Regions from separate parts of the Homo sapiens genome. Here regions 1, 2, 3 and 4 are each linked to region 5. Evidence: promoter capture Hi-C in human tissues and cell types (Jung and others, 2019). All regions are on one chromosome and are shown on one strand. The core of a region is centred on a gene start or on the middle of the fragment in contact, and the rest is flanking DNA. Distances in the headings are between cores, read along the strand shown.

Region 1 (4,164 bases), core at 1,122-3,621, 420 kb before region 5:
ACACCCACCAAACATAAAGGGCCAGGTCTGTACATGGAAAGTCAAAGACATCAATCAGTGTAACTTTCCAAAGAAGAAAATGAACCGCCTTGGGAAGACGACCCCAAACATTCAAGATCCCCTCAACCACTTGGTTAGAACACGGAGAGACAGCAGCTAAAATCAACACAGAACTGGAAAAAGATCTTAAGGCTCTTGACCCCTGGTCCCCTGTGGGTTCTGGAAATTTGGACTGCTGCTTTATTACAGAGGGGAGCACTAATCAAAGGACAGTCTCTTCAAGGAAAACATTTCAGAGACTCCCAGGACTAACGGCCATGTAAATATTCATTTCTATAAGAAACCATTATTGACGTTTTTAGAATCTTTTTAAAAAGCAGGTTTGACATGATAATATGTCATGATAGCAGTAAGATTCCATTTCAGCAGGGTAACAGATACCTAGAGAAAAAGACTGAAAGCCCCCACTGGGGGTCTCTGATGGAGGAAGGTTATGGAGACTTATTTTCTGGGCCAACAGGCAAGCTCCATGTAATCGCTCTACTGCTCAATTTCCTCATCTGGAGATGACACCAGCCGGTTACTAATAAGGCTTCCGCAATAATCAAATGAATCAATAGAATGTAAAATGCCTGGGATAGTGTGGCCTAGAGGAAGCTCTAATAAGCTCTCCTCATAATCAGGACTTCCATGGAGCTTCCTCGTTTTTGTAAAACATTATCTTTATTCCTTTTATTTTATTTTTAAGTTATTTGGATAAAACTATCACTGAGGGCACTCCACTAACCAAGAACAGAAATATACTCAAAGTGTCCCAAAATGACCCTCTTCTACAGATTCAAGAGGCAGAAAATCTAATGTCTTAACTCAGCTGGAAATTAATATTAGTCCATCAATAGGTATCTCACAAAGAAATAAAACTAGTAACTAGAGGTAAGGGAAAACACTCAATCTAGCTAGATAATTTTTTTTAATTAAAAAAAGTAACTTTTCAATTATTAAATTAACCAGAAAAATATTTTTTAAAGATGTTACCCAGGGCTGCCAAGACTAAAATAAAGTCATAGTTTTCACATGTTGCCAACAAACTGGTGCAAACCTTTAGCAAAACAAGTCGGCAGTCGGTGTCAAGAGCCAGAAAAGGCGCCTTCCCTCCAACCCAGTAATTTTAATTCTGAGAATTTAGCCTAAGCAAATTTCTCAAAACAGAGGGAAAGTCATGTCCACCCTCCTGTTCACAAGTGAGCACTGTTTCCCATAGTGGAAAACTGGAAAGAAGAGAAATGCCAAATTATGTGTAAATAAACCATATTATAGCAAGTTAATGGCACTAAAAATGATAAAGAGAAAAATGGGGGGAGATACAGAAAAACTGTTAACAGGTTGAAATGTTACATGAGAAAATGTCAAAATATAAAACTGTACACCCCTGGCGATTACACTGGGGAAAAGCCTGAATGAGAACTTCCAGGATGCCAATAGTGGATCTGAGTACAGATGCTTTTCCTCCTTCTCTGCCCTCAATTTTTACAATATGTGATCTTATTACCGTCACGATTAAAAAAAAAAAATCTTCCTGTCTGGTAAAAATCCTTCCTCTGCTGTGGATACAGAAGAGCTGCTCACTGCCTCATATCCCACCATGACACACCTCTCCAGGCTCTTTCTTGCCCTTCGAAAAGGGCAAGAATTCTTTTTTAAGAAGCGTATTATCTTTCCAATGCCAAAGCTCCACAGGGCACTTGAAGTAATCACCTCTCCGAGGCGAGAACACTGCCACCTTCACTCACCTCCCCTTAAGTACCCAGTTGCTCCAAAGAATCAGAGAAAGGGCTTTGTAGCTCATAAGCAAGACACAGAACCAGTCTCCCTCCCTCCGGGAAGGCGGCAGAAATTCCACATCAGCCGTTTCCATCATCCTTGAAAAGGTGGTCAAGTTGGTCACCCTGGAGACCTCAGCCCTGTCCACCCTGACTCTGGCTGAAACCATTGTATATTTCTGTCGTCTGGTTATGCATAAGTTCTTTAAATGATCCTAAACATTTTGACCAGCAGAAGTAAAAGTGCAGAAGAGACTGAAACAGAAGAGACTGAAACATAGAGGGATGGTTAAGTTACAGTGTCACTACTTGACAGAGCATTAGGCAGCCTCCCAAAACAACTGTGAATCCTCAATATAGAATGTGGCCAAGGGCCTCTAATGTTAAGTAGAAAAAAGCAGATAATTGAACCGTATTTCCCCATGACAACGACCAAATAAAATAGTTGATACAGATTTAACCAATAGCAGTTAATGTTTACAAGCCACTTACTGTATACAGGCACTGTGCTGCGTGCTTCATACAGGTTAAAATTTCACAACACTGTTAAGTATCAGAAGCCTTATTACCCCCATTTTGGAGAGGAGGAAATTGAGGCACCAGGAGGTTAAAGAATTCTCTTTAAACCTCCCAAAGGCTAAAGTTTAGAACATTCTGGTAAGTTTCCCACGATCACACAGCCCCCTAAGGGGGAAGAAGGGCTCTGATTTTGACACAAATCGGCCTTCTCAAGGGCTCACACCCTCACTCCTAGGCTGAAAGGGAATATATAAGAAATTTTAGGCCGGGCGCGGTGGCTCACGCCTGTAATCCCAGCACTTTGGGAGGCCGAGGCGGGCGGGTCACGAGGTCAGGAGATCCAGACCATCCTGGCTAACACGGTGAAACCCCGTCTCTACTAAAAATACAAAAAAGTAGCCGGGCGTAGTGGCGGGCGCCTGTAGTCCCAGCTACTCGGGAGACTGAGGCGAGAGAATGGCGTGAACCCGGGAGGCGGAGCTTACAGTGAGCCGAGATCACGCCACTGCATTCCAGCCTGGGTGACAGAGGCAAGACTCCGTCTAAAAAAAAAAAAAAAAGAAAGAAATTTTAAATGAAAGTAGAATTTGTTTTAGAAAAGGGACTTTTTCTCCTTCCCTCTACTGTCTAAACTTTCTAATGTTCTGTTTTCACGATTTAAAGACAAAAAAAGAAGGGCTACAGAGAGAGGTTAATGTATGTTTGGGGCGCATGGTTTTTTAATTATGTTTTGCTCAAAGGACTAAATAAATGCCACTCAAACCTCCACCACACTTGGGGGTTAAGGGTAGGAAGTCAGGGGAAAAAAATAATGGAGAATAGCCAAGAATGAGCCTGTTCCAAACCAAACCAAGCAGCTCCAGGCAGCTGCCGGCAACATCTTTTTTAAAAACATTTGCTCTCCACCATGTCTTCCAGTTTGAGCATGAATTCTAAAATCATGAGACTGGAGTGACAGGACACAGAATGCCATAGAATGCACTAATATCACACAGCTGCTATTGACAAAGCTGGGCATACAATTTAGGAATCAACTCCTTAATCCTGCGTTCTTTCAGAAACTGATCATGTGCCAAACATTCCCAGGTCAGCTAACGATAATCCGTATGTGCCGAAGTTGAAATATACACCATATCTCAAAAATGGTAACTTGGCACACTTGTACAGTGTTTAATAAATCCTCAAAACCAGACAGATGACAGAGCTCACCCATACTATGTCATTTGCTCAGATTACTAATGTTATAGCTCTAGTAATTCTGAGGCCATGTTAGAAACAGAGAAAAGCTAAAATAGACATAATAATACTTTTAAAAAATAATTCTGCAGGCCGGGCTTGGTGGCTCACATCTGTAATCTGTAATCCCAGCACGTTGGAAGGCGGAGGTAGATGGATTATTGAGCTCAGGGGTTCAAGAGCAACCTGGGCAACGTGGTGAAACTCTGTTTCTACAAAAAATAAAAATACATTAGCCAGGCGTGACGGCGCACTCCTGTGGTCCCAGCTACTAGGGGGATCAAAGTGGGAGGATCACTTGAGTCCAGGAGGTCGAGGCTGCAGTGAGCTGTGATCATGCCATTGCATTCCAGCCTGGGCTGGAAAACAATAAACAAACAAACAATTCTGCAAAAATAAAAATTCAGTGTGTATAGTGATCAATTCAGAAAGATCATATGCAACAAGCAGTATGAAATATTCTCCCCAAATAACACACCCCCAATTTTCCCATCCCAAAAACTTCTCTGAAGGGCAGGAGCAGGCACTGGGGATATGGGACCCCTTGGATGGGCGAAGGACCAGTTTCAGAGGGGGCAGCTTGCTCCAG
Region 2 (4,158 bases), core at 1,420-3,919, 290 kb before region 5:
GCCTCTCCAAGACACAACATAACACCTCCCATTCACATAATACACAGTTATTTGTTGTTGTTACTGTTGAGTGTTTTGTTGAATACTTTTAGAAAAAAGAGTAAAAAGTATTAGAAACCAAACCAATAGTGAAGATTTAAATCAAACAAAGGCAACGTCTGTAGCAAGGTCTGGGGTGAATTTATGACAGGTATGACTCATTGTCTTCAGTTTTCTATGCACAAAGGAAATGAGAACTGGCAGTTCTTCAGGATGACCCTAGCATTCTGCAAGATCCTCAATCATCTCTGAAAAGGGACACTGTGTTCCTTTTTGGTTAGGACTGTTTGGTTGCAAGTAACATAAGCTGCCTCAAGCTGGCTTGCATATGCATTTTGAGGTGTGTGTGTACACGTGCCTGTGTGTGGTGAAGGGGTAGTTCAAAGTGCCTTATGGAGCCAAAACTTGTAGAAACTACTCACTGTATATCTTTTTCATTTTTACTTTCCCTTACACTAGTTTTTGCTTCTTGTCCCAAATGGCAGAAAAATTGCTGCCCCACAATTCTAGAGGTTATGTTATAGATCCAAGCGCATGAAGAGACTGATGCAACCAGAGTTTCCCCCAATTTGAAATTCTCAGAGAAAGAAGCTGATTGGTTTAGCTAAGTTCCGCTGTACACCTCAGCTCCAATCATCTGTGGCTAGGAAGACAGCATTGCACAAACACAGGTGAAGGAGGCTTACTCCTAAGATCCTGAGGATGGAAATAAAAGAGGAGTTTCAAAGGGTGGGGAAAGGTGAGTGTCATTAGGTATAGACACACCAAAGGTGTCATTCCAGTTTAAGTAGTAGGGGGGAAGTGAACTAATATAGAATAATTTTTAACAGCCAGAGCCAGAATCTAAAAGGGTTTTGGCTTAGCATGGTGGCTCACACTTGTAATTGCAACACTTTGGGAGGCTGAGGTGGGAGGATCACTTGAGCCCAGGAGTTTGAGACCAGCCTGGGCAACATAATGAGACCCCGTTCTACAAAAATAAAAATAAAAACAAATTAGCCAGGCATGGTGGTGCATGCCTGAAGTCCCAGCTACTCAGGAGGCTGAGGCAGGAGGATCTCTTGAAGGAGTTCAAGGTTGCAGTGAGCTATTATCACACTACTGAACCCCAGTCTGGGCAGCAGAACAACATTCTGCCTATTAAAAAATGAAAGTAAGAAGGTTTTTTTAAATATATACATACCATAGTTAAGCCAAAAAATTCAATTAGACCAAACTTATTTTACCTTTCATGTCAATTATAGCAGACACAGATGCTTGCCTACCTAACAGCCTATTCTCTTTTCTTCTAAGTTGACCGTACCACACATTTACTTGGGTGTCTGCTCCATCATCTTATCAGTCATAGATAACCCCCATCCCTGTGTTTAGATGTAAATTAGTCTAATAGGTGCATTGTGATCCTATTTGCTGTCTAGTTAGTGGCTTAGACATAAGCATGTGATACAATTCTAGCCACTAAAACTCGATAGACAGTCTGCTGATAGGCCTTTTGCAAAGATTTTTTTATTCTCAGTGATGAAAAGAAACTCATAGGAACACTCCTTCTTCTTTTAGATACTTTTAGATCTGGCTGTGATGCGCGGGACTGTGGCAGCCACCTTAGGCCCATGAGGGGACTTAGCATGAGAATGGAAGAACTGAAAGATAGAAAGAACTTGGGTCCTTGATGACATCATTTGAGTCACTGGGTTAACCCACCTTGGACTACTTTACTTCTGGGATTCTTGTTATTTGATAAAAGAAGTGTTCTTATTGTTTAAGCCAGTTGAATTCATTTTTAATTTTTAGTTACTTGAATCCCCAAACATCCTAAATGACATACCTCCAAATTAATACAAATCACAAGCCACAAATGAGACATACTTTAATGAGAGCTGACTTGATAGCATGGAGAACAATTTTGCAAATTCTTAGGAGAAGCTGTCCCTTAGGCAACAGTGATATTGGTAGCCAGGAGATCATAAATCATTTCTAATGCTCCCAGAGCCTTATCAATATACAGAATTTTGCAAGCACAGCAACATTTTTTTTTATATTTATGAAAAAAGCACCTCAAAGGAATTATCTGTTTAAAGTAGCTTTTTTGTGCTTCAAAGTCCTTGCTCCTTCAGACAGAGAGTTGGACAAGTTTAAAGTGGTTTTATTGTGCGTTCCACTCGCTCAAGTTTGATAGGCTGTGTTTTCATGACAGGTCTGTCCCAGCACTGGGTGCCTGGGATGATTTGATGTGGGCTGAGTTCGGACAGCCTAATACTTGGGAAAAAATGTGCTGAAATTGAACAAGATCGCTTTCTGCCCAGCTGTTCTCCAAAGGCTCAGACATTTTTAGCACTGAGCAAAGAAGCTTGTATTTGTTTTGACGTTCTTGGCAAGGAGAACAATGGTTTATTATCCTAGCACTTTACTAACAAATAAGACTGCCTCCAGCAGAGATAAAATATGGGTCTTGACTTCATTGCATCTCATGTCCAAGGGAATTATCTTCTATTCATTCTGATGCCCTTTCATTATGCAGTGTATCTTTTTGTTCTTTATCCTTACCCCACAAAGTAACCCCTGGCTTTCACTCTGAGAAGACAGCTTCCTGAAATCACCATGGGCATGGCAGTTTGATTGTCTTATAAAACATATACTGTATTTTCACTTCTCCAATTTGATATCTTGGAATTTTTTTGTTTGTTTGTTTGCTTTTGGTTCTCCAGATGTGTATGGTTACTTTCTTCTCTAATTTTTCTGTCTGCTTCCTTTTGATATTTGTTTATGTTGTTGCTACTGTTTTAGCACACAGAAGTCTTGGCTTTTACATCATACCTACATTGAAGAGGGCTATCCGGACGCTTTTCTTCGCCCATATGGAGAAGTGTATTACACAGAACAATAGTTTTCTTCAAAACAAAAGGAATTTTTAATATTTTCATGAAAACACTTCTATTTCTCTCCCTATTCTTTGCCTTCCAAAGGATTTTAAAAATTAAACCTTTTTGTAAGTATCACATATGCAGATGTGTGTATAGTTCAATGCATTTTCACAAAGTGAGCACAGCTGTGTAACAATTGTCCCCTCATGTCCCCTCACTGTCGCTGCCTGCCTGTTCCCAAAGGTAACCACTATTCTGACTTCTATCATCAAGCTAAATTTTTCCTCTTTTGCTCGACATTACAGTTGTATGATTCAATCGTGTTGTGATGGATAATGGTAGTTTCATTTTTACTACTGCATATCATTCCATTGGATGACTACACTACAATTTATGTTGATGGCCATTTGATTTGCAAATTTGGGGCTATTACAAGTAGTACTGCTATCACATTTTTGTATGTGTCTTTTGGTGAATATATGTCCACATTTTTCTTAGTTATATGTACCTAGAGGCAGAATTAATGGGGAAGAGGGTATGTATATATTCACTGTTTGTAGGTTGTCCCAATTTATATTTCTGCCAAGAAGGTATGAAAGTCCTGTATCAGTTCAAATACTTGCCAGCACTTGGTATTATTGGTCTTTTAATGATAGCAATTCTGTTAAGTGGGTGGCAGCATCTTGTTGGTCTTATTTTGCATATTCCTGATGAATAATAAGATTGCATACCTTTTATGTTTATTGGCATTTGGAGATCCTCCTCTGTGAAGTGCTTAGAACAGTTTTCATCCTTTTTCTGTTGAGTGTTATATATATTTCTTATTAATATTAAAGACTTCTTTATATATTATGGAAATGAGTTCTTTGTTGAATATATGTATTGCAAATACTGTCTTGCACTCTGTGGATTGCCTTTTTACATTCTCATAGAATCTTTTAATAAATAGAAGTTGTTAATTTTTAAAAAACTTTGTACGATAAAATCATTTTAGACTTAAAAAAATAATACAGAGAGTTCCTGTATACTTTTTACCTAGCATTCCCTAATAGTAACATATTACTTAACCAGAGTACAAAAAATTAATACTGCCACAATACTATTACTAATCTACAGACCTTAATCCCCATTTTGTCAACTGTCCACTAATGCCCTTTTCACAGTTCAGGATCCAACCTAAGATTCCTACATTGACTAAAATTGTCATGTATCCTTGGTCTCTTGCAATCTGGGGTGATTCCTCAGTTTTTCTTTGTCT
Region 3 (4,086 bases), core at 155-2,654, 480 kb before region 5:
AAAAAAAAGATGACAGTGGGTCAAATCCTATGTGGCATAGGGCAATATTTTGTCTAGTCAAACTATCTCTGAGATTCTTCAGGAAAATACTGCATAGAGCTCAGTGTGGGTCAGTTTTCCCACAGCACTGATGTGCTGGGGTTCCTTTGGTCAAGCACCAAAATGAGTTAGTCGGTTTGGACATAGAGGTTACATGATGCAAGAAAACACACCCTTAATACCAGAGTCTCACTCAGGGCAGGGAGATGTGTACACCCTACGAAGGATGAGGCTGCAGAATTGCAGACAGCTAAGGGAACTCCAGATCTGTCTCCCATCTCACACTCACTGCAGGGCAGATTCCCACTGAGGAAATGACGGAATTCTCTACCCAATTTAAACAACAATAATAATACTTGTTATTATTTTAATAAATCGTGGATATCTGAACTCACATAACTTAAAAACCTATACGGTGCAATATCACACAGGGTGCAAATTAAAACACAGCATTAATAACAACACTCTACCAAGAAGTCTTTTCTAGTCTTCAGCACTTAGCAAATCCACTATGTACAGAGCACAATGCCACCACGTAGGTTCGGCAGGATTTGAGAGGCAAAACGGGCACAGGTCCTGTTCTTGTTACTCTTCTTGGGTAGCTCACAGCAATGCCTTCCACAAGTGGGCACCTTGTGGGGTGGCTGTTATACCCATGAAACTGACAGGTGTCAGCAACTGCCTGGTGGGCCTTATTTTCTGGGAGCACGTGCATATGTAGCTTATTTTCTAAGGGGATGCCCTCTGGCTAAGGAAGGCACAAAGCTGAGATTCTAAGGAAAGTATGTGTCAAGAGTTGGGCTTCATATGTATGTGTCCACCACTAACTTTCTCCATAAACCTCATATTTATGGGACGTGGAATATGGTGAGAGAGAAAAAGCAGAATTTAAAAAAATAGGAGCTTTAAACAGCCTACAGAGGGACCCACCATTCTTCTTAAGGGCAAGCAAAAATCTGCTTCAGTAAAATACTGGGATGGGCACAGAAGAGGGTGTTGCCCAAACTATTGACAGGCCTAACCTCCACATCTTAGACGTGGGAGTCTTTTCACTGAACGTCTTAGGGCACCATGAGTAAGTGAGTCCAGGATACATACACACTTAAGAAACTGTATAGGCCGGGCGCAGTGGCTCACGCCTGTAAATCCCGGCACTTGGGGAGGCTGAGGCAGGCAGATCACAAGGTCAAGAGATCAAGACCATCCTGGCCAACATGGTGAAACCCATCTCTACTAAAAATACAAAAATTAGCTGGGCGTGGTGGCACACGCCTGTAGTCCCAGCTACTTGGGAGGCTGAGGCAGGAGAATCGCTTGAACCCGGGAGGCAGAGGTTGCACTGAGCCAAGATCACGCCACTGCACTTCAGCCTGGGTGACAGAGCAAGACTCCGTCCATGCCATCCCCCCAAAAAAAGAAACAATCGCCATAGAAAATGTTCCTCAATCCTTCCTATCTATGCTAATACTTACTTGATTTTGCATTCTTGTTCCCTATTTGGTGTCCATCACTGGCAAGACATTGGCATGTTTGGTTTTATAAAAATTTGATCTTGTGTAAAGGCCAGCAATACGTTGCGTTCAGTCAGAAGTTTGGAAATTTCTAGGCAAATGGCAGGATTATAAACCTCTCTCAGGTGACTGTAGAATGGTGGAGCTCAGCCTTCAGTGTGCATTAGAATCACCTTGAGGGCTTCTTAAGTAAAACGCCGATGGCTGGGCCCACTCCCGCCAGTTGATTTAGCTGATCTAGAACGGGGCCTGAACAACTGCATTTCTGGCTGGGCCCACCGACACCAGTTGATTTAGCTGGTCTAGAATGGCGCCTGAACAACTGCATTTTCGGAGTTCTCATGTGATGCTGATGCTCCCGGACTGAGGATTATACTTTGAGAACCACTGTGAAGAGTCGACCCAAGAAAGGCATTTTCCAGGCAAAGACAATCAGAAGCTAATTCTATCCAAGACTCGCCTCCCACAGCTGTTCTCTGCACAAATCTTGGCAAAGTCTATGCCAATACACATTTTGTCTTTTCTTTCCTATGGACCTCAGGCATATAGATTTAGATTGACCATAATCCTTGGTTTGTAGCCCACTCTCACCAGTTGTTATGTATGACCATCTGTTCATTCACTCGTTCATTTTTAATAGCATAAACACCAATCAAAATAAAAGCTAGGACCTTGAAAATAACCTACATCTAACTACATGGAACTTATCCATCATCTATCCTACCTCCCAATATATGAGTTAACCAGCTAAGCAGTTAACCATCATTCTCTTACTTTTCTTTTCACACTTTTATTAGATCTATAAACTATGGTACAATCATACAGTAGAACACTGAACATAAGTCAAGACAAACAATCTCCAACAACAAACAATACAGGTGAATCACAGCAATATAATACTAAGTGAAAATAGGAAAGATTACATACAGATGATACCAATTTATAACATTAGAAATATATATTCTTTCGGATGCCTTAAAACAGATGTGCATTTTAAATCTTAGTATTTCTAATCACTGAAGAAATGCTAAAAAAAAGAGTCCATGAGTAAAGAAATGTACCCGGTCAGTTTTAACTAGGGAGGACATGACCTTATCCCATTGTGTCCTCCTCAGACTCCCTAACAAAGCTCATCTTCCCATCCTCCAGCTGCATCCCTCAGCTTCCATGAGACAGCCCCAAAATCAATAGCCCAGACACAAGGAGGCAATTCACAGAAAAGGAAACAAAGCAGTAAACAAACATGACGGGAAAAAATGTGAACTCTGCTCATAATCAGAGAAATGCAAATGAAAGCATTTGGGGAGGTTGTTATTCTATGACTACCAAATTAGCAAAAATGGGAAAAAAAAAATAGGGCAGCAGTTGTGATGCCTGTGAATGTCTGTGATAGCACAGTAAAACTGACAGGCACAGACAATGATGTCAGCAATGTAAACTTAAAAAAGAAAAAAAAACACAGCTGCATGCTGAGGTGTAACAGACACCTGTGCAGACATCCCACTCTGCAGACTTTATCCCAAAGAAGTAATTCAAGGGAAAGAAACAACCTGGATTGCCCCAATAAAGCGTTGTCTCAGAAAACCACAGGAGAGTAACATGACAGTATGTAACACAGTTGGGGCATATTACAGTTTTGAAGAGAAATGTATAGATGATATTTAATTCAGGAACAATACAAAATTCAAAATGGTAGGTGTGTTGTAGTTAAAGCCACGTAAACACGGGTACCTACCTGTACAAGGGCTGCAAGGCTGAGTGCAAAAACTAACAGAGCTATTGTGTTTGGAATGGGAATGGGTGTTGCTTTCTGCCTTTCAGGGTGTTCCATTACTGCAGTGTTGTGTTGCAATTATCTTTTTAGAGCTTGAGAGGTTCCTACCTTGAGAACTTTCACAGCTTTCCTCATCACTGTTGTCTTGACAGTTATTCTGTCCATCGCAGATGAAGCTCTTGTCAATACAGAGGCCGTTCTTGCAGTGGTAGCGGGCGGTGGAGCAAAGCAGAGGGTTTGCTGCTGCAGAGGGAAAACACAGCACATTACCAGGGAGGCCAGCAAGTTCCCTTGGGGACCCTGGAACTTCTTCCAGCCTGGCGTGTGTCCCGCTCAGGAAGCAGTAAGCTTATCTTCTAAGCTGGCAGACTCAAAGCCCATGCTGTAAGGCTGGCCAGCCAAACCTGGACACAAGACTTACTCTGCCTCATTCTAAAACCTCCTGGGGGTCTTTGGAGAGATCTGCCACTCTGGTTAAGTAAGTCTGCTTAATAACTGAATATTGATGCCTTTCAACACCAGCAACAGGAATCTCTCTGAGATGCATCAAATCTTGGGTTCATCAACATTTACCTTTTTTGGTGACAGCACAGGGTCATTCTTAGGAACATTAACTTTTAGACCAGGCTATAATACAGGGATGCCTTTGGCTCCTTTTTAGAACTTTCTAGTCTCTTTTTAAACTATCCTAGGCTGCTGTGCTTTTGGAATTCTTTTTAATTTTTTTTTCCATTTTTGTTTTTTTATTTATGCAAATATACG
Region 4 (4,497 bases), core at 814-3,313, 310 kb before region 5:
AATCATATTTCAATGACATGAGAAAAGGTCTGCAATAACTAAGTGAAATAAAAACAGGATATAAAGGCCGGGTGCGGTGGCTCACGCCTGTAATCCCAGCACTTTGGGAGGCCGAGGCGGGTGGATCATGAGGTCAGGAGATCGAGACCACGGTGAAACCCCGTCTCTACTAAAAATACAAAAAAAAAAAAAAATTAGCCGGGCGTAGTGGCGGGCGCCTGTAGTTCCAGCTACTCGGGAGGCTGAGGCAGGAGAATGGCGTGAACCCGGGAGGCGGAGCTTGCAGTGAGCCGAGATTGCGCCACTGCACTCCAGCCTGGGTGACAGAGCGAGACACCGTCTCAAAAAAAAAAATAAAAAAAATAAAAATAAAAATAAAAACAGGATATAAAACTGAATATAAAGTGTGACTCCAGTTTAAAGAGTATGTTTGTTCATCTATGTGTGCCTGTGATTGTCAGATAATAAAATAATATTAGCAATGCATTATTTCTGCATAATGATTATTTTTTGTGCGTTTTCAAAGTATCTTTTTGTATTTCTCAAATGCATTGAATGAGCAAGTGTTACTTTTGTAACTAGAAAAATATACTTAAAATGATTATTTTTAAAAACAGCAATTTTTATCCCTACACAATATAAGCAGTAGGAGGACAGGTCTTTACCTGTTCTGTTCACTGATACATGCTCAGAATAGTGTCTGGCTCCTAATATGTGTTCAGTAAATATTTGTTGAATGAATGAAAGTTATAGCCTGTGGTGTGTGCAAATCTATTGTGTGTGTAGGTTATCTGTGGTTTCATAAATAACCATCCTCAAAACAGCAACCATTGTAATAGGCTCATGCATTCTGTGGGCCAGGAGTTCCAACAGGACAAAGTGGGATGTCTTGTCTAATTCCATGATATCTGGAGCCTCAGCTGGGAAAAAAATGTGTGTATTACTCTGCTTTTGCTGCCATAACTATGTTGTTATTGACTTATTGATTTACATATTTTATTTAAGACAGGGTCTCACTCTTGTCACCCAGGCTAGAGTACAGTGAGTGGCACTATCATGGCTCACTGAAGCCTTGACCTCCCGGCCTCAAGTGATCCCCAGTGATCCCCCTGCCTCAGCCTTCCGAGTAGATGGGACTACAGGTGTGTGCCACAACACCCGGCTAATTATTATTATTATATTCTGTATAGGTGGGTGTCCCACTCTGTTGCCTGGGCTGCCTTGAAATCCTGGGTTGATGTGATCCTTTCACCTCAGGCTCCCAAAGTGCTGAGATTACAGGTGTGAGCCACCATGCCTGGCCTGGCCTGGCTGCCCTAACTATGGCTGTCATAGAATGGGTGGCTTAAACAACAGAAATTTATTTTCTTACTGTTCTGGCTCCTGGGAAGTTCATGATCAAGGTGGCAGCCCATTTGGTTTCTGGCGAGGGCTCTCCTTCTGGCTTACAGGGGGCCCCCTTCTTACTCTGTCCTCATACAGTTGAGAGAGAGGAAGGAGCTCTTTGCTGTCTCTTCTCATTAAGACACTGATTTTATCAAACCGGGTCTCCCCTACACCCCGTCATGGCCTTATCTAACCCTAATCACCTCTTAAAGGTCCCATCTCCAAATACTATCATTTTGGGGATTAGGGGTCTGACATATGCATTTTGGGGGTACACAAACAGCCCATAACAACATGAATAGCTGCAGGTGACTTGAAATGTTAGAAGCAAAAATAGCCTGGAAAGGCTGGGTGCGGTGGCTCATGCATGTAATCCCAGCACTCTGGGAGGCCGAAGCAGGTGGATTATCTGAGGTCAGGAGTTCAAGACCAACCTGGCCAACATGATGAAACCCCGTCTCTGCTAAAAATACAAAAAATTAGCCAGGCATGGTGGCGCACGCCTGTAATGCCAGCTACTCGGGAGACTGAAGCAGGAGAATCACTTGAACCCAGGAGGTGGAGGTTGCAGTGAGCTGAAATCACACCACTGCACTCCAGCCTGGGCAACAAGAGTGAAACTCCATCTCAAAAGAAAAAAAATAAAGAAAAAGAAATTGCCTGGAAACTTCTTCCCTCATATGCCTGGGGTCTGGGACGGGACAACTCTGAGGCTGGACTCAGCTGGGACCATCAGCTGAAACATCAACACATGCCCTTCCATCCAGCCTGGACTTTCACATTAGATTTTGCAAGAGTCCGCAATAAACCTTTGCTATGCTAAGCCACTAATACTTTGGGTTGATTGCTGCAGTGTAGCCTACCTTATCCTGGACTAAGAATGATTTTCAAGTATACGGTTATTTAATGTAATGAGATAAACCTTGTTAGCCTAGAGGCTAGCCTAAGGAATGTCTTTCCTTTCCACCATAGGCAATCTGGAAAGCTGAGCTTCTGCTCAGCGAGACACGTGAGATACGCATGACATGGACCAGGGTGCTCGCCTTGTCATGCCACTTACAAACAGTGTGGCCTTGGATAAATTACAGAATCTTTCTGAGCCTCAGTTTTCTCACCAGTAAAATGGGAAGATGATTATAACACTTATCTCAGGATTGTGAGAATTAAGGGATAGGTATCTATTATATGGCACTGGGCACAGCATAAGCACTTATTAAATGTTAGCTGTTATATTACTTCCATTATTACTTCTATTATTATTATTATTATTTTTTGAGGTGGAGCCTCACTCTGTCGCCCAGGCTGGAGTGCAGTGGCACGATCTAAGCTCACTGCAACCTCCGCCTCCTGGGTTTGAGTGATTCTCCTGCTTCAGCCTCCTGAGTAGCTGGGACTACAGGCGCCCGCCACCATGCCCGGCTAATGGTTTTGTATTTTTTTAGTAGAGACGGGGTTTCACCGTGATAGCCAGGATGATCTCAATCTCCTGACCTCGTGATCTGCCCACCTCGGCCTCCCAAAGTGCTGGGATTACAGGCGTGAACCACCGAGTCCGGCCATATTACTTCTATTATTATACAGTCCGCAATCTCTTGAGCTGAAGGCTAGGAGGGTGTCCACTATGCACAGTTAAAAAAAAAAAAAAAAAAAAAAAGCTGAATCAGCACATCCAGAGAGAAAATTGAGTATCTTTTGTGTTTGGTTAGGGCTGAGAGAAAAAAGGAGGCTTTTGAACTCCCAAAGCCATAAACGAGAAGTGAGGAGAAAGGCCTCCCCTTTTGATATATTAAATATCTACTTATGTATACACCACCTGGTTCCATATAAGAAGAGAGAGGAAGACAGACTTCATGCCATCTCATCTTCTGGCAACAAAAACAGGTGCTAAAACAAGGACGGGATGTAAAATAGAAGCAGAAAGTGGCTCCCAAAAAAATCTTACCATGGGAACCTCACTGCAGACTCTGGCTGTGCGCTAAGCTCTCTAGCCGACTGTGCAATAAGTGCAGCCGTGGTGGTTACACAACCTCGCAAGGTTGCACAATCCAGTTTAGGTTCTTCATCACCCAGTCACGCCATTGCCAAAGCATGCTCCCAAGGGAGGGGCTGGGAGGCAAGCCGCTGGCAAAGGTGACTTGAGTAAGGTGCTGGGTGTCATGCCTAGCACTGTGCCACAGGGGCTGAGTCACCCCAGAAATTTAAGGTGTGGCCGCCAGGCCCCTGCCAAGGAGGGCCGGGGGACCCGGAAAAGAGAAGAATCCCATTTTTGCCTTTATCACCATCACTCCAATTCAGAGGAGGGTACGTCTGAAAAAAATTCTCTCTAGCTTGCACTTTTTAGGCCGTTTAATTTTTTATTGTTGAGTATGAACAGTGAAACAGAGCAGTTTCCTGTTTCTTGGCCCCAACCCCCCAACCACCGCTGAGAAATTTGAGTTTAAAACTGCCGGAGAGGAACATTTAAATTCTATAAATTAGCTTCACTAAAGATGCTTAAGCATTTATGAAAACATTCCCATTTTACTCTCGGCGTTATAAAATCTTAAAGAAAAAAAAAAATCCCAAATTGCCACGTGAAGCTAAGCTGGCAGAGAGAGCGATCTGCTCAGTGCAAATATGCCAACAGCTTTACAAATGAGGAATATAGAATCAGGATTAAGAGCCCGCAGATCATTTATCAGTGACAAAACAAAGACTCCTAGCCTCTGGACTCAGAGTCCGCGGAGAATCTAATCGGCTACATCGCATGCCCCAGAAGCAGTGTTCAGTGTTAACTCATTTATACCCACATTAATGCTGGCAGCAGGGAACTCCGTTGTGCCTGCCTTGGTGCCCAGAAGAGCTATTTTGGTGTAAAACAGAGCTCGGCTTCAGGGAAAACCTGGGTTTAAATCCTGGTTTAGCTACTAACCAGCTGGTGACGCTGGACAACGAACTTTATCATTAGAAGACTCAGTTTCCTCCTCTGAACACTGGAGAGAATAATAACATGCAGGCATTCAAGAAGGGATAATTTCCCTGATAACCTTCACTTCTAGACAAACACAATAAACATAACCAAACGACGGAGTGGTTCCATCAAATGTACTTTTTTTTTTTTTTGAGATGGAG
Region 5 (4,226 bases), core at 1-2,500:
TCGTTATACTTGTCCCACATGCCTGCTACCCGGTAGCCGTGCACCAAGCCCGCCTCATTGTCCAGAAAGACCAGCGCCCCGCCCGGACCGCGGTGCAGGTTGCTGGTGGCACGCTGCATGACGCGCGGGTCCCACTGCAGGCTGAAGAGGTTGCTTACGAGCCGGTCGAAGTTGGCCGTCAGGTAGTCGAAAAGGATTAAGTCGGTCCATTGTACTAGGTCCACCAGCTCCGCCTGGCTGAGGTTGGCCAGCTCACCCCCGGCATCCCGGAGGGGGCGCAGACGGCCGTCCTCCGAGCGCCAGGGCGCGGGCACCACCACGTCCGTGAGGTTGGGCAGCCAGCGTGTCAGGCTCACCACGCTGCCCTCGGTCCAGTGCGCAGCGCGCAGCTCCTCCTGCACCTGCGCCCACTGCGCGCCCCGAGCCTCCACCCGAGCCAGTGCCAGCGGCGGCACGTGGCGCTGGAGGCCCAGCAGGCGCGCCAGATAGTAAGACAGGGCCTCGCCCTGAATCTGCTCCGGGTTGATGCCGTAGCGCACGCAGGCGCGGGTGCCGTCGGCAAAACGGGCCAGTCGGTTGGAGCTGCGCCCGCAACCCCCGCGCTCCAGGGCCACCATCCGGGCGCCGCGAGCCGCCTCCAGCCACGCCGCCGCCTGGGCCTCCGAAAAGCCCGGGGGCACCTGCTCCTCCAGGCCGCGGCTCCAGAAGACGCCCCCGTGCACCGCGGCGCTCTCCTCCGGCCGGGGCTGCCTGGCTGACACGTGCCACCTGGGCTCGCTCCGGGACTGCCGGGGCGGGCCGTCCGCGCCGGCCGCCAGGGTGAGCAGCGCCCGGAAAGTTTTCAGGGAGCCGCCGCGGGCGTCCCACGCCAGGGGCGGGGGCAGAGGGAAGCGAGGCGCGGGCGCGGGGCCGCCGCTCCGGGCCGGGCGCCGTGGGAGTCGGTCTTCGGGCGGCCGGGAGGCGGGCAGCTCGGTCCGCGGCGGCAGGAGCCCTCCCCACAGCGCCAGCAGCGAGCCCAGCGCCAGCAGCCAGAGCCCCGCGGTGGCGGCGGCGCCCCGCATCCTCCTGCCCATGCTCCCGCGGCTGTGCCGGTGCGCCGCCGCCGCTTCAAGCCGAGCCCAGGCACCCGGGTCCCGGCGGCGAGGCGGGCCCGGCAGTTTGTGGGCTCCGGGGCTTCGGGCGCTTCGGCCCCATCGCGGCCGCGGGGCGCTGCGGGGCTCTGTCCGGCGCTCCGCCCGGCGCTGGGAACTCGAGTCCCCGCCGCTTCCCAGCTGCTTTTGTATTTCGCTGTGAGACCCTCCGGTGGGCGCGATTCACAGGCGCCCGGACCACGTGGGAGCCAGGGGGATCCCCCTCCCCCTCCTCCGCCTCCGCTCCCCGCCCCCCGCTCCCCCGCCCCCTTCCTCTCCTCTTCCACTTAAAGCGGCGATGGCTCCTTCCGAGAGGGAGAGGCGGCCCCACACTCGGTCCGGGACTTGGGGGCCTGGAGGAAGCCGGACTGGCTGCGCCCGCGCCGGGGCGTAGGAGGGGGTGGCGCAGAGCCGGAGTCTGGGGCCTGGCGGGAGGGACGCGCCCTGGGCCCTCGCGGGGGTGTCTTGGTCGCCGGGTCCCTTTGCCTAGGCAGCGCGGGTCTCCTGCAAACTTCAGACAGATTTCCACCTCTTTCCGAGCTCCGCCAGGCTAGGATCAGGCAGGGTCCCTTTGCTTTCTCAGTTTCTGTCTGGGTGATTCACGCTGCTTTATGTAAATCTCTGGGAATGTCTCCGAGCCACAGAGGATGTGATTCCAGCGGAAAGAGGAACCCGCTGTAGCCAACAACTTTGAACCGACACTCCCTTTTCCGAGCTCGCACATCAGCACCAATCAGTATTGGCCGCTCTGCCTTTCCCAACGGACTCCCAGGGAATGAAGCCTCGCTGTGCACGTGCCCCTTGAACACCTAGGCCATCTCCCATTCATTCATGCATCCATTCAACACAGCGACTGCCCCTCAGTTCTGGTTCTGCTTACCAGAAGCAAAATCCACAGATCCGGGTCCCAGTGCTGCTGAAATTTACATTCCAGTGGGACTCTCAGGTTGCTAAGAGAGATTATAGCCATCCAACCTCGTGTTGGGGAGAGGGGAGTCAGGGACGACTTTTCGAAAGAAATGATACCGTTTTGTCCATGAGGAAACTGAGGCACAGAGAAGGGATGGGTGTTGCTCAGGATTGCACAATTAGCAAGGGGCGAAGCTAAAAGTCAAACTCAGGTCTCCTGGCCGCATGCACTTGATTTTCCCTCCATTAAGAAAGATCAGTATTTTTTTTTTAATCAAGTCAGCATTCTCAAGTTTGAAATTCACTGTCATTTGACCACTTTGTTCCCCAAATGTGATTTTTCAATTAAAAGGATTTTTCAAATGGAAAGGAAAAAAACCTCAATCCCATACTGCATTTGATTTACTGCTTTTACGATTTAAGGGAAAAAGAAATGGTGGTGGTGGTGGGGGAGGGAGGTGGTGAAGGAGCAAAGAAAACAAAATGAACAACCTCTTCACCCCAACACATCTTCCAGCCACCTCTGGGTTACATTTACCAGGAAAACTTGGATGCCAGTCGGCCCTCCCTTACCTCTCTGTATCAGAATGAGTCCCAGATCCACACTGAGATTCCCAGGGTAGACACAAGATCAGGGGCATGGTGGAATCCACCTCTCAAAGGCCAGAGTTTGAAATCTGTTTCCTTACATGGTGTGTATCTTTTCTCTCCTTTCATCTTCCCATCAGGTGCACATGGGGGTTTTCAACTGGACTACCTCATCAGTTGGCACTGATTATGTTTTATTCTCCAAAGAAAAAACGTTCTAGGGTGATAGAGCGTTCCAGGGTGATAAAGCAGACACTCTTATGTTTATGGCTGAGCAGAGGCATCAAAAAACCACATTTGGAGTATTGCAGCACTGACCCAGGATACAGTCAAGTGTTTTCACTGGTGTGGTTAAGTACATACTGGATGAACTGTTGAATCTGTTCCCAACCACATGGTGGCTATACCATGCCATTTTATAACTCTTATCTGATAATGAGATTACTATGGCTCCCATATGGTTGCATCGAAATATATTAATCCATTCAAAGGTCTTATTTTTTTGGCCTATGTAAGCCCCTCCTCATCTTTCCCTAGCAGGCAGGGACTATGTCTTATTTTTTTATTTCTTATACCACCTAACATAGTATATTACACTAAATAAGCACTCAATAAATTTAATTTTTTTGTCTTTTGGTTTAACTTCTACTGGGATATATATGTATTTATTTGAAAGGCAGCCTCTTTCAGCGTGGGCAAACTATAAGCAAGATCGCCACCTAGTGGGCATAAGTAGAGTATCATCTAATTGGAGAAAAGTAGACATTTTTAACTGGATGATTAATTGTTGAAGTTAAATTCGGAAGACTATTAAATGTCTACTGTGTACCAAGCTATGTCCTAGGGGATATGGAGAAATCCAAAGTAGTTGGGGTCTCTGTCTTTTTGGCTGCTAACAAAAGCTGTAAGTAACTACCATTGTAAACTTCCTGGGGAGTCTGTCTTGTCCATTGTTTTATGGCTGCCTGGGCACAATGCCTGGCACTTAGTGTGTGTTCAACAACAATTTGCTGAATACATCGTTAGAATGCTAATGAGATGCAAGTAGCATGTATCAAGTTTTTTTAAATTAAATACCTTACTACTAAATAATGCAAAACAATTTTGTCCAACGGTTGTGAGTTATTGTTCAGCTGATTAAAGAATACAAAATAAGAACTTCCACTCATTTGAAAAAGAAAAAATATTGGTGAGGGTTTTGCATGATAGATGTGAGGGGAAGCACATGATTTTAATTCTGGGAGGGCTGGCTTCAAATCCAGAGACTAGAAATCCTGGAATCTCCTAACCATATTGCTGGTACTGATGAAAAAAACCCAGACTTAAATAAATTGACTAAGATCGTACACCTCATAAGATGGACTAATTTTATCATTGAGCAGCCCTTTGCCTATAGCCATAGGACTGAATGCATCATGTACCAGAACAGGATGCATTAATTTGTTAAACTTTAACAAATTAATTGAAATGCAGAAATACAGAAAACCAAAGGAACAAACACTGCCCCTTCCTCAAAGTGGAATGCAGTTTTGGAATGGTATTTGATTATTTGAGACAGGGTTTAAAAACATGCCTCTGTTTAGCTGTTAGATGAAAATA

The links. Contacts are between HindIII fragments. The study calls those that stand out against the background at their distance.
Region 1: a fragment that was not itself captured here is called in contact with the fragment with the promoter of FJX1 in region 5 in 1 of the 25 tissues and cell types used here (dorsolateral prefrontal cortex).
Region 2: a contact is called between a fragment that was not itself captured here and the fragment with the promoter of FJX1 in region 5, in 1 of the 25 tissues and cell types used here (hippocampus).
Region 3: a contact is called between a fragment that was not itself captured here and the fragment with the promoter of FJX1 in region 5, in 1 of the 25 tissues and cell types used here (spleen).
Region 4: a contact is called between a fragment that was not itself captured here and the fragment with the promoter of FJX1 in region 5, in 1 of the 25 tissues and cell types used here (spleen).

What each region holds. Positions count from the first base shown.
Region 1 is chr11:36,037,707-36,041,870 of GRCh38, reverse strand. The region is part of intron 2 of LDLRAD3 (low density lipoprotein receptor class A domain containing 3); the gene reads right to left. Among named protein-coding and RNA genes, the nearest start is that of MIR3973, 30 kb to the right of the region's middle. RefSeq lists an enhancer at 2,693-3,200. The HindIII fragment of the contact is 5,673 bases long and covers 1-4,164 here.
Region 2 is chr11:35,904,351-35,908,508 of GRCh38, reverse strand. No RefSeq gene overlaps it. Among named protein-coding and RNA genes, the nearest start is that of LDLRAD3, 38 kb to the left of the region's middle. The HindIII fragment of the contact is 5,735 bases long and covers 1-4,158 here.
Region 3 is chr11:36,097,808-36,101,893 of GRCh38, reverse strand. It overlaps LDLRAD3 (low density lipoprotein receptor class A domain containing 3), which reads right to left. Exons shown (of 6, transcript NM_174902.4): 4 at 3,433-3,567. Among named protein-coding and RNA genes, the nearest start is that of MIR3973, 90 kb to the right of the region's middle. RefSeq lists an enhancer at 1-113. The HindIII fragment of the contact is 6,988 bases long and covers 1-4,086 here.
Region 4 is chr11:35,926,892-35,931,388 of GRCh38, reverse strand. No RefSeq gene overlaps it. Among named protein-coding and RNA genes, the nearest start is that of LDLRAD3, 15 kb to the left of the region's middle. The HindIII fragment of the contact is 6,604 bases long and covers 1-4,497 here.
Region 5 is chr11:35,615,484-35,619,709 of GRCh38, reverse strand. It overlaps FJX1 (four-jointed box kinase 1), which reads right to left and starts at 1,250. Exons shown (of 1, transcript NM_014344.4): 1 at 1-1,250. The coding sequence starts at 1,073. RefSeq lists enhancers at 1-295, 296-930 and silencers at 503-772, 783-1,042, 1,063-1,132, 1,230-1,391, 1,213-1,542 and 1 more. The HindIII fragment of the contact is 11,931 bases long and covers 1-4,226 here.